Regions from separate parts of the Homo sapiens genome. Here region 1 is linked to region 2. Evidence: promoter capture Hi-C in human tissues and cell types (Jung and others, 2019). All regions are on one chromosome and are shown on one strand. Each heading gives the region's core, a stretch centred on a gene start or on the middle of the fragment in contact. The rest is flanking DNA. Distances are from core to core; before and after follow the strand shown. Region 1 overlaps LOC105377476 (a long non-coding RNA gene). Region 2 holds the start of TTC29 (tetratricopeptide repeat domain 29).

Evidence for each region. Contacts are between HindIII fragments. The study calls those that stand out against the background at their distance.
Region 1: a contact is called between a fragment that was not itself captured here and the fragment with the promoter of TTC29 in region 2, in 1 of the 25 tissues and cell types used here (H1 embryonic stem cells).

Annotation. Positions count from the first base shown.
Region 1 is chr4:147,082,932-147,088,953 of GRCh38, forward strand. The region is part of intron 2 of LOC105377476 (a long non-coding RNA gene); the gene reads left to right. Among named protein-coding and RNA genes, the nearest start is that of TTC29, 140 kb to the left of the region's middle. The HindIII fragment of the contact is 4,512 bases long and covers 1-3,526 here.
Region 2 is chr4:146,943,813-146,950,035 of GRCh38, forward strand. TTC29 (tetratricopeptide repeat domain 29) reads right to left here and starts at 2,052. Exons shown (of 13, transcript NM_031956.4): 1 at 1,897-2,052; 2 at 1,219-1,265. It overlaps TTC29-AS1 (TTC29 antisense RNA 1), which reads left to right. Exons shown (of 7, transcript NR_188447.1): 3 at 1,619-1,742. RefSeq lists a silencer at 2,045-2,184. The HindIII fragment of the contact is 11,756 bases long and covers 725-6,223 here.

The sequences.
Region 1 (6,022 bases), core at 21-2,520, 140 kb after region 2:
ATGGTTTTAGAACACCAGGTCTTTGACACCTAGGACAGCATTCTTCTACTACTTCATGATATTCTCTCATACATCCATTATAATCATCCATTATAATCAGTTATCAAATATACATAATATGCAATATACTTACTCTTCAAAAGTGGTTGTAGAAGACAACAAAAATTACCTCAAGCTTTCCCCATAGCCAGATTGGAGCTGCCTTCGACATGCAAAATGTGTATTACAAATACCAAAATGAGGTTATTTTTCTAGAGCAAATTTTAGCAGCATCAAAAAGTATACTAAAAATATGCCACTAGGCAGAATCTTCATCTTTAAATAAAATATTGGTCTCTCTACAATAAAAATATAATGTACAGTTTATTTATTCTTGCTTTAGACAAAAATAAAATAAACCCGGAGAATTTTGGAGATCATTTGTAAACTGAACACAGCACAGTTATTCTACTAATCCTCAATTTCTCACTGGAAGTAGAGGACCCCCTTGAAACTTGAGTGAGGTGAGTTAAGGACCAATAAAAGGAAGTATTACTTTACAAAGAAAATAATAAACGTATGGAGCTCATTATCACAAAAGAGGTACAGGCAAGGAATATAAATGGATTCATAAAGGTTTTGACCAAATTTATGAATGTCAGAGCCATAAATGGCTACTGAGAGTACACCTAACCTTTAAGGTTAATGTCAGGGAGGAAAACTATGTCCTTCCCTGGCAAATCCCTTGAGGCCTCTGTTGTCAACACAATATTAGGTTGGATGGAACATGGGCTTTTCCAGCAGAGCAATTCCAAAGTTCCTTTTAGCTAATAGGAAACAGGACCAGATGAACATCCATCTCTTCAATAGAAGCATAAATGAAATGGATCCATTTTAAATGGGAAGCTTAATGAAATGATGCTGTTGAAATTTGTTATTTCTATAATCAAGGTTGTGTGTGTGTGTGTGTGTGTGTATATATGTATCTCCAAAGTGTGTGTGTGTGTATATATATATACACTTTTTTGTTTATATAAACAAGAAAAAAGATTTAAGTTTTTGGAATTGGAAGAAAGCCAATATTTGCAATGTTTGAATCCAGGCCCTGGTGCAAGTTACTTCCCATTCAGTGCCTCAGCATTCTCACATGTAAAATGGGGAGAATAATCCCCATGGTAAGGGCATTTTGTGAGAGTCATGCTAGAAAGCACTTTGTAAACTGAGAAACAAAATATATATATAGTTGCTGTAGCATATAGCCAGCTTTAAGCAAATCTCAATCATTTTAGCAGAAGGCTTGTGAGACACATGAGATTGGAAGGCTCCTCACTTTATTTTTCCTGGGAGAATTAATACAAATATTCAAAAAGTACTCAAGACCCAAGTCAAATGCCCTCTCACAATGGCAGGGTTTCTTTCTCCTCTAAATTTCCAGAACATTTTAGTCATGTCTCAGTTAGACTATTTGTATTATGATTTGTCTGCTAATTTACCTCCTTCATTTAACTATGAGATCTTCTAAATCAGAGGCCTTGTCTTATTCATCTCTGCATCCCTAATACTTATCATAGTTCCTCATATATAGTTGGCAATTAATGGAAGTGAATAAATCACTTAATGTGTTACTAATCCTGTTGTCTCCACCTCACACTTCACAGTCATGGAATAAAGGAATGATCCAACTATAAAATGCAATAAACCGATCATGGCTAAGGTACAAAGTCAAGACCAAGCCTATGCTTGGTCTCATTTCTGGGCTCCAGTCTCTAACTCCCTTATTGTGGAGAGAATAGTGTCTTGGTTCTATTTGCATGAAAAATAAAAAGCAAAACCTGAATTACAGAGTAGTGAAATCTTCACCAAGTGCACATGCGTAAAATCCTAAAAATCTCTTGATTTCCTAAAACTACAGTTTTTAACTCTTTAAAATAAGATGAACACTATATAATTCTGACCATGGCCTCACATTTTAGGTAAGTACACCATTGCAGAGCATCTGATGGCCACTATCATGATCCACAAATAGAAAACAGCCTTGTTATCTACAGAATTCAATGCAGGGGTCAAAATGAATGTTAAAATACAACCTGCATATTTAGTCCATGACATGAACAAACAATTGTAGGTATTTAGATCTAGTGCCTGGATTGCAAATGCTCAACTTTATCCTTAATGGCCGATTTCCAAGCATACTTCTGGTTCCATGAGCTTGACTCAATGGACTAAATGCTTTTCTTCTTTTCCCATAAGTTAGGGTGGTTCTGCTTTATCAGATTTTTTTAATGCCTAGAAAATGTTCTCCTCTTGTTTATGAAGTTAGAAGGGTAAACAGGAAAGAGACTGCTGGCATTAAATAAATATGCATGTATACAGATGCACAGGTGTGTATGCTCACATGTAACCCTGTTTTCACTTAACAGCAGTTGAAAGAATGAGAGTGAAATGGGTCAATAAGCCACTGGACACCAGCATTTTCTTCAGCATCCCCAGGGGCCAGTCCCACCCTACCGCTGCCTTTGTGAGGGCACTCTCTGGCCAGTTTTGCTCAGCACATTCATTTAGCAGTTGGCATTTTTGTTGTGAAGCTGACCTTCTGCTCCTCTGAGTTCCTAAATGCTATCCACTAATATAACAGTTTTTCTTGTCAAAGGGATTGTAATGAATGTTTATTTCAGATCTACACTTCTTAGCTTATCTGTAGCCAGACTGACTTTGCTGCCTTCAGATTTCAGCTGTTTTATTCCCCAAGGCTAAATTTACATTGGTAATTAATAATATCCTTGCTTATTCTGACCAAATACATACATATAAATGTATCTTCCACCTCTCTGCATCATAAATGCATCTTACACTTATCTTATTGTCATTATTTCCTGCTGTCAGTCTCATATTGGAATACGCAACATTGCTGTACTTTGTCATGGTGAAAAGTTTGTCCTGCAAATGCTCAGTTTCTTAGGTCTTCCGTGAATGGCTGTGCTTATCTCATGTGTGCTTCTAGGCATCTCCAGGGCTCTGCATTTAACTTCATACTTCTAAAAGCATCTGTACAGAGGTAATATTAATGTTATTGCCACAGACAGGCAGAGCCTCATTTCTCTCTGCTTTGACTGAAAATGCCTGTTCATAGTGAAAATGTGCAGACATTGGCATTCTTGTATGAGGTTGGAATGTGTGTGGGTCCAGCCATTGACAGCAGGAAGAAATAAGACACAACTGCCAGATGGCTTGGTTTAAAAAAAAAATACCAGTCAAGATTTGCTAGTGATCCATAACCATTAAAATTATTTTCCCAAAGGATTCTCTATTCCGAGGCTGGAAAAATATTCCTGAATTCACTCTCAGTTCTGAGATGGGGTTGCGTGAAAGAGTGGGTGATTTAAAGATCACTTATCTCCCAGAATAGGTACTTAAACTAGACATACTGGGTGTTTAAAATTCTCGATATAAGGATATGACTGCTATCATCTTTAAATTTTTTGAAGATCTGATTTAGAATTCATAGTAGGAAGGCAGAAAGTAGTAGAATGAAGATTGAATTTGGAGTTAAGTTCTAGTCTCTACCATTAAGTGGTTATCTTTAGTGTATCCCTAAGCCTCAGTTTATTTTCTATATGTTGGAGATAAAATCTGCACTCTCTAGGTCATAGTCATAGTATTGTTTAAAGATCTTAAGATAAAAATGTGCAGAAATGAACTCTGTAAACCATCCAGTGCTATGAATCCAAATTGCTGTTATAAACTAACACAGAAGTTCCTGAGTGGGGGAAAAAATTAATAAGAAACCTATTAATGGCCCTGGTAGCTTTTGCAACCTGGGTTTCCTTAGATCATTCATGTTGTAACTTTCATGTTGTTGGTTTGATCATTAGATTAATTCACTTTATATTGTTTTCTTATTTTATCCCCGAACAACTCAAACCCAAGCTGAATTATAACAACAAATAATAATGTTTAGGAAAAAAAAGTCTGGTCCCAAACAATGGTAACTATTATAAATTTTTGACATGCACACTGGAAACAAGAATTTCAGTAGAAAATAATTAGCTTGTTGTCTTTGCGTTCATTTAAGTTAAAGTGATGGTTACACTGAGACATTACTGATTCTTCACTTGACACATCCACTCAGTGTTTCCACTAGGATTTCAGTGATCCTAGACCCTTCCCCACTAATGAGAATGCCACCTTCACACCCAGTGTGCTTCTTCTGTTCTATCTGTGGACTCCATGCTCTTTGCAGCCACTGCCTCCTTCTCTCTAGTTGGCTGCTGGATGCTGTGGACCCGCTCAGTTGCCCCGATGAAGTATGAACTGGGTGAACACTTGCTGTATGAGTGAGTGATGCCACATGCCTCTTCTCCTTTAAGGCCCATATATGAAGGCACTGCTGGTGGAGGCAGCAGAGTGAGTCAAATCTCACAAATGACCATCACCAAATTCAACATCCCCAAATTCCTGTGCCCAGTAAATGTGATAACTTTTTCCTAAGATACAATCAAAGGGTAAATAAAATAGAATGCCATCTGTCCTGAAGAATACTTTCCCAGGGTGAGGCTTCTCTAACAGCTTCTGCATTACAGACTATCAAAAGACAGCATTCTGGAACGTTCTGAAAGTAGAGAGGGAGAGAGAGAGCAAATACTGCACAGAGGTGTCAGGATTACTAAGCACTGAAATATTTTTATTTTTATTTTTATTTATGTATTTTTTTGAGACGAAGTCTCACTCTGTTGCCCAAGTTGGAGTGCAGTGGCGTGATCTTGGCTCACTGCAACCTCTGCCTCCCGGGTTCAAGCAATTCTCCTGCCTCAGCCTCCCAAGTAGCTGGACTACAGGCACATACCACCAGGTCTGGCTAATTTTTGTATTTTTAGTAGAGACGGGGTTTTCACCATGTTGGCCAGGCTGGTCTCGAACTCCTGACTTCGTGAGCTGCCCACCTCGGCTTCCCAAAGTGCTGGGATTACAGGCGTGGGCCACCATGGCCAGCCATCTTTATTTCTCAACTATTATTCCACATCAAAGAGAAGTTCACATTTTAACAGAAGATAGACGTAACCTCTGGATGAAACTGCAAGTCTATAGTCTTTAACTGTGTTCATTACCATATTAGGTAATAATGACTATGGACATATAATTATTGATTACTGCTTTTAAAATAACCATGCTATTGAGTAGCCATGAACATAAAACTATGAGGTTATAATAGAAAATAAATTCGGCTCTGAGCATATAAAAATTTCAATTAAAAAAACATACAATAAGAGACACTGTTCCAGAATTACATGTTTTTGGTTGATCTTTCACCATTCATGTTATGCAGCCTTCCGTGCTGCAAAACCTGGCAATGATTAAGAACAACATGCAGCATCGAAATCACAATAATGGCACTGGATATTACAATACTGAAGTGAAACCGAACAGTTTTCATTTCAGATTCCATGATTTGTTAGTCCAGTCATGTGACACGGGACAAGTCACTTTATTTATATTCAGCCTTTTAGTTTATACATTGAACCTCCTGGGCTCCTGTGGGATTGAAAAATGTTGATGACAGAGGGTGTAAGTCTTTATAAACTCTGAGTTTCCAGTTCTGTTTTTAAAACATTGCTTGGATTAAATCAGCAAATTGTACTGTTATTTTGTGACTTTGGAAGGCTGAGCTCTTCATCTCTGCTTTTATTATAACGACTGTTACTAAAACTGACACTCATGACCCCATTACCCACCAGGACGATCAGGCATTCTCTTCAGGTGTGTGTTGTTTTATCACTAAACTTAGTCACTTTACTAAAGTAACTTCAGACGGGCTTTAGATTTGAGGGCAGGCTGTAAAACTAACAAGAAAAAAGGAAAATTTAAAGATATGGACACAGAGTGATGGGTTGCCTTCCTAATCATGTATTCAGAGGCTGAAAGCCCAGAGAACCTGGGCAATTGCTAACCTGCAGTATCTGGAGCAACCAGCAATCTAATGTGAAATTCCTTTCATCTTCCCTCCACACTCCTGTGAAAACCAGGAGGATTTCTGAGAGGCACAGAG
Region 2 (6,223 bases), core at 802-3,301:
TCTTTGTTAATATGAGTTGCATCATTTTCCTGGTGTTGGTCAGACAGCATTCTCAGTTCCCATGTGAGCTCCAATTTAGACTCAACAATGAAGAATGGGACTAGTGCTATGAGGTGACTGACCCAGGCCTGTAGCATAAATGGAGCATATCACCACTAGTTATGGCACCTCCTTAGGGTTCTCCCAGATCAACATCTCAGGGGAAAACACACAAGATGGTGTGGCTGCAGGAAGGGAAATTGCTCAGGTTCAGGTGAGTAAGAAAGAAGAAGAATGAAAGATACCTCTTTGGCTGCTACCAAATGAGCTTAGCCCCAGGAGCTCAGGCTGAATCAGCCTGTTAGGAGGACCCACAGGAACCTCCGCCAGTGCTAGCAAGTGGGCAGTGCTACAGTGTGGCATCATCGGGTGCTGAGACAAAGATCAAAAGGCCGCCTGAAGCCATTCCACTGTTGGTATTCAGAAGAAATTTGGTGTACTCTTTGATCTGCTGGTTGGCTCTTGTATCACAGCTACAATCTCTAAGTTTGGCCCCCACATGCAAAGACAAATGAAAATGGAGAAATACAGGATGAAAGGTTTGAGAGTGCTAGGTCAGGCTGAATGTGTCCCATGGTGTGAGCTTAAATTTTTGGCCCCCAAGTAAAATTCTTCAAAGAGTAACTCTCCTGCCCTCTATCCCCAGAGATGCCTTTATCAGGAAACACAAAGGAGGGAGACCTACTACTATGTAAATGGAGGCTACTTGGAGAATGACTATGTCTGAGGCTGACCAGTGTCTGCAGGGTTCAGTCACTTTGGAGTAAAAACTGAGATTAGAGAAATAAAGCCAGTAAACCACAGTAAGCAAGTTTATTATACATCATCACGAGTTCAAAACAAGTAGGATTTTACTAAAAATCATTCATAAGAATTAAAACTTTTCATATTATCCAAGCTCTTTTACTATGAAAGTTTAATGAAAACTACAGAAGAAATATCACTAATTATGCTCCCTAAGTAAAAAAAAAAACATAATTAAGTTTATAAAGAGTCAGTAATAATGTTTATTCTCGGTATCATAATTTTTGGACACTTCTGGCACTCTCTCATGGGTAGATAGGTTGTTTAGTAAAATAAATAGAAAACACACATTTCCTACCAGCTGACATTGATGGCTAAATCACAAAATCAAGCAGGAAATGAGTTTGAAGGCAAGCCATATTTCACGTGACTTACATTTGCAGATTACTGCTGATGGTCTCTCCAGGCTTATAGACTTCAGCCTGAAAATCAGGAAGCAAAGAATAATAGCAAAGAAGAAAAATTTAAAATCATTCAGTAGTGTAACTCCTCTCCCCGCTCCAAGTCATGGAATAAGATTCACTCTTACAACAAATACTTCCTACCATCTAAGTTTAGATGAACTTTTAAAGAAAATCCCCAAGTATAGATCCTATGAGAGAAACTAATCACTAAATCAGTGAAATGCCAAAACATCTGAAATATGTATATGTATTGATGTATTTCAATACAAATGTGACATTAGGGATAACCATTTGTTCTCTCAAATTTACGAGATACAGTTATCTTTGCCAAAAACGGAGAGCATCTCAGTTCCCTTTCTGTTCCCACCTAGTTCTCAACAGGACTAAAGGACTTATCCTATGCCTAGTTTTTCACTCCCCTCAGAGGGTCAGGTGAACTGGGGAGCAAGAGGAACTGGCGCCTTTCCCTACTTCTCTTTCAATTCGTTTATTGAGGTAAGTGGCGAGGGCCTGGACTGAGGAAGCTTGAGAAAGACTGATGGAGGAAGGGCTGGCTGTAGGGGTCAGGGAAGGGGCTGCCTGAAGAACAGCCTGCCTCTCCAAGGAGCTGAGGAAGTCCGGTCCCAACCTCGCCCCTGCCGTCACGAACCTCGGTGCACTGGCCCAGGGAAACAACTCCAGTTTTCCGTTCCGCCGAAGTCAGTCCCCCACCGGCGGCAGGTGCTGGGCGTTGGCGCTGCCCCCTCCTCTCTCAGTGATTCCGAAGCCTGGCTCCGCCGGAGCGGAGACAGGGGACGCCGAGAGCGTCTCCACGGAAACAGAGAGGCGAGGCATGACGGCCGGGGGTGGAGTTAGGCTAAACCGGGCCTCGGGATTGGGGCAGCTCCCAGACTCTTCGGGCTTGGGGGCGGAGTCTGGCGAGGGGTGGAGCTTACTGACGGCCGGGCGGGGCCCCCAGATAGCTGAGGCTTTTCAAGCAGGGCTGCTTTCAGAAGTTAGCTCGCTTTTAGGCATTTTCACGTAACCCAAGAGGCTCGAATTTGCCACTTTCATTTCTTTCGTGGCCTTGCATTCTCAATGCTTTTTCTTCATTTCTCTTTTGTCCACAGGATTGATGGGAAAACGCTGAGCTAGGCATTCATGATCCCCGTGACCTGAAGCCAATTTATCCATCTAGCTAAGTCATTCATTCTCCTCTTCCTCAGCCTCTCTTGCAGTCAGAACCCACCACAAATGCCTTTTCCTGTCATGTCCCCACAGACAATTCAATTTTGAATTGTGGTTCGCTAAATACTCAAGGTCTCTTTCAGAGAATCTCCCTGCATCTGTCCTTATTTGTTTTGCATTTTTACCTGAAACTCAGGGTTTTATATTTACACTAAATAAATATCATCGTATTAATCTCGGCCCATCATTCCATCTCTTCTCTCAGACATGAGTGCAAGGAAGTGAAATTCCTTGCTCATTCCCTCATATATATATGGGGCAAGAGAGTGAGGCTTGCCACTTGTTACTTCTAAAATACAGAAGTGCTGGAAAGTTAGGCTATTGTTCCTTGTCTACTGACACACATTGTAGGAGAACGAGCCAGCGATATTGCTCACACGAATCATTCTATTAACCATAAATCGATTCTATTTAGAGTACAAGCATATCAACCATAACCACACTTTCATTCTAACATCTCATTTGCTGTAACAAATTACTAAATTATTTCCAAGTATGTTTACATTATACATTCAATGAGCACTGTGACTATCTGTAATTGGGCTCCACCCCATCCCCCACACCAGTAAGACTCTCATTCTATTCTCATGAGTTTATTTTCCAGTTTCAGCATCACCTTAACACACTCCACTGTGACCTGTGTGAATTCTTTTCCAGTCCTTGCTGCTTTTTCTGACTTAGAGTCTGTTTGTGAATTCCATGCACCTTCCTTTCTCACAGGAGGCTGTCTTAGTTGGCTTTCTAGGTAGTTCCTTCCTGCTTCTTTGGACTTACTTCTCCTACTTGCTGTTTTTTCACTAGAAGTTCTTTGACTAACTCTCTTTCTCCTTCTGTTTAGCATAGAATTCCTTCAGTTAGAGAACTTTGTTTGCAAGTGACAGAAAACACAAACGGGCTTAAGCAAAAAAGGAAACTGATGAAAACCAAAGGATGCCAGATTCAGCTGCAACTTTATCTAGAAACTCAGGCCTTTCTGAAAGTTTTGAGGATTCCAGAATACCTCTTCCTTTCACTACACAGAATTAATTTCTCCTCCTCTCGCCTCCTTTCTCTTAGACCTACCTTGATTTTATCAGTATAACTTTGCATGGTGTTTGGCTTATGGGAACCAAACTTGCCTGAAAGATTGTGAGTACCTTGAAAGCAGAGACTTTGTTTTATTGTTTTCTGAATTCCCTTGTACCGTATGCAAGGATTAGTATACAGTATGTGCTCAAAAATATTTTTTGAATTAACAGAATGACAGAATAGAGTGGTTTTTCAAACAGATTCTTCCTTGTGTAATTCTTCTCATTGCTTCCTCAATCTTCTCCACCTAGAATTCTAGGGGGAAGGTCAGGTGACACAACTGATAGTTTGAATGCTATTACTGACATAACAACCTCTAAAGTTTCCTCTTCCAGTCTTGCTCTGGAGAAATGATTTTAGGTTAGGTCAGCTCCCTAAAGAAGCAAGAGACAATTTTCTAATGGAAGCCAATCCATCTTAACTGCTCCCCATAATTGTTCTCAAAGTGTTTTTGATATCTCAATCATCAATTTCTACAGTAAAATTATTCTGAATCATTCTTGTTTTACTAAACACATCCCCAAGTAACATCTTAGGAAAGAACATATGAGATAAAATTTTAAGTTCTTTCATGTCTGACAATATCCTTATTTTGCCTACAATCATTTGGTAGGATTGCACATTCTAGATTAACAATCATTTCCCTCTGAATTTAGAAGGTATTATTTCACTGTTTTCTAGTATCCAGTGTTTGGGATGAGAAGTCTAGTGGCAATTTTATTGTCCTTCCTTTGTATGTGATGTAGTAGTAAGATCCATATGCAGTGACAACCACAAATTGACAACCACAAATCTGTGTGGCCTAAAACAACAAAATTTATTGATTGATTACCGTATGTCACCATCACAAGTCAGCCTTGGGTTTTGCTCCATGCTATGCCACAGCAGAATCAATATGAGAGAACCTTTGCCACCTGGAGGATGGCTGGTCTGTAGCAGAGAGATCATGAGAGTAAACTGCACATTAGCTTTAAAGGCTTCATCCAAAAGGGTATCCATCACTTTCACATTTCGTTGGCCACAACTGAAGTAGCCATGCTCAACTTTAAGAAAGCAGGTATGCACGATTTCACCTGTGCCTGAAAGACCAGATTATCCTTTAATAGTCATAATGATGGTCGTAGACTTGGTTTTTCCCCTCAACACAGGCATTTTTAGGTTACTTTATCCTTTTTGTTCTCAAATTTTATGGTAGAACTCTTCAGCTGAGTACTCACATCCTTCTTCAGATTTAGATAATTGTCTTCTATTTTTTAAATTATAATTTCCTTGTCTTGAATTTGTTCTATTATTTCTTTAAGATTCTGTTTAGTGAATGCAGATCCCTAGATTTGTCTTTTTTATCCTTGATTTTTTAAAAAAGATTTTTATCCTTTTTGCCTTTATATTCTAAAGTCTGTAAGTTTTTGACAATATTGCTTTTTAGTCTTTAATTGATTTGCTTGTACATAGAAGGAGTCACATTCTTGGTCTTTGAGCGTTCTTGCTTTCTGATTGCTCCTTCTTTATAGACTCTTTTATTAATGTAATATTTTGCAATTATCTCTGAATATATTAATTTGTTTTTTAAAGTTATCTTTTTATTTTTAATTTTTGTGGGTACATAGTAGGTGTATGTATTTATGGAATACATTAATTATTTTGATATAGGCATAAAATGTGTAATTATCACATCAGAGTAAATGGGGTACCCATCACGTCAAGCATTTATCCTTTGTGTTATAGACAATCCAACTGATACTCTTATTTTTAAACGTAGAATTAAATTATGATTGACTGCAGTCACTCTGTTATGCTATCAAATACTAGATCTCATTCATTCTTTCTAACTATATTTTTGTACCCTTTAACCATCCCCACTCCCAACCCCACCCCCTCACTACCTTTCCCAGCCTCTGGTAACCATTCTTCTACTCTCTCTCTCCATGAGTTCAATTGTTTCAATTTTGAGCTCCCACAAATAAGTGAGAACATGTGAAGTTTATCTTTCGGTGCCTGGCTTATTTCACTTAACATAATTACCTCCAGTTCCATCCATGTTGTTGCAAATAACAGGATCTCATATTTTTTTATGGTGGAATAGCACCTCAAAAGTTGCCCTTTTTTTTTTGTTAAATTATCTTTTCTTCCAGGGAAAGTGTTTCTTTTGTTAATGTTGAAATTTCTGTATTAGGTACCATATTGTATTTGGTTACTCTGTTAATTAGCATTAGGTTCAGCTGTGAGTAACAAACAAACAAGCAAACTACAGAATAGGAATGACACTCCATGGTGTCAGATTCCTAGTTTCTTCTGTTTTTAGCTTCACTGCACATGGATTGCATTCCCAAGATTGCCTCATTGGTGATCCAGCTATTACATCTTATCAAAAGAAAGCCTGCACAGGGATGAGGGGGTCAAATGGGGAACCTAGTGGTTAAATTTTTAACAATGGAAATTGTGCTATCTAGGCATATTCAGAGAAGACTTAGTAGCCTAAAGTGCAAAGCCCCTATTAAGCATTTACCACTGAGGCATCTTTGCTCAGAAAATTCCCCTTTCTTGACTGATATAGCTGTTCTTTCCTTGCTTGAAGACACTGCTACTTCTTTGCCTAAGGTGGTTCTCTTGAAGAAAAAATACAATACATTTTTATTTACCCAGCCTATCCAGATCTGTCATTAGAAGTGAATTCCATCATG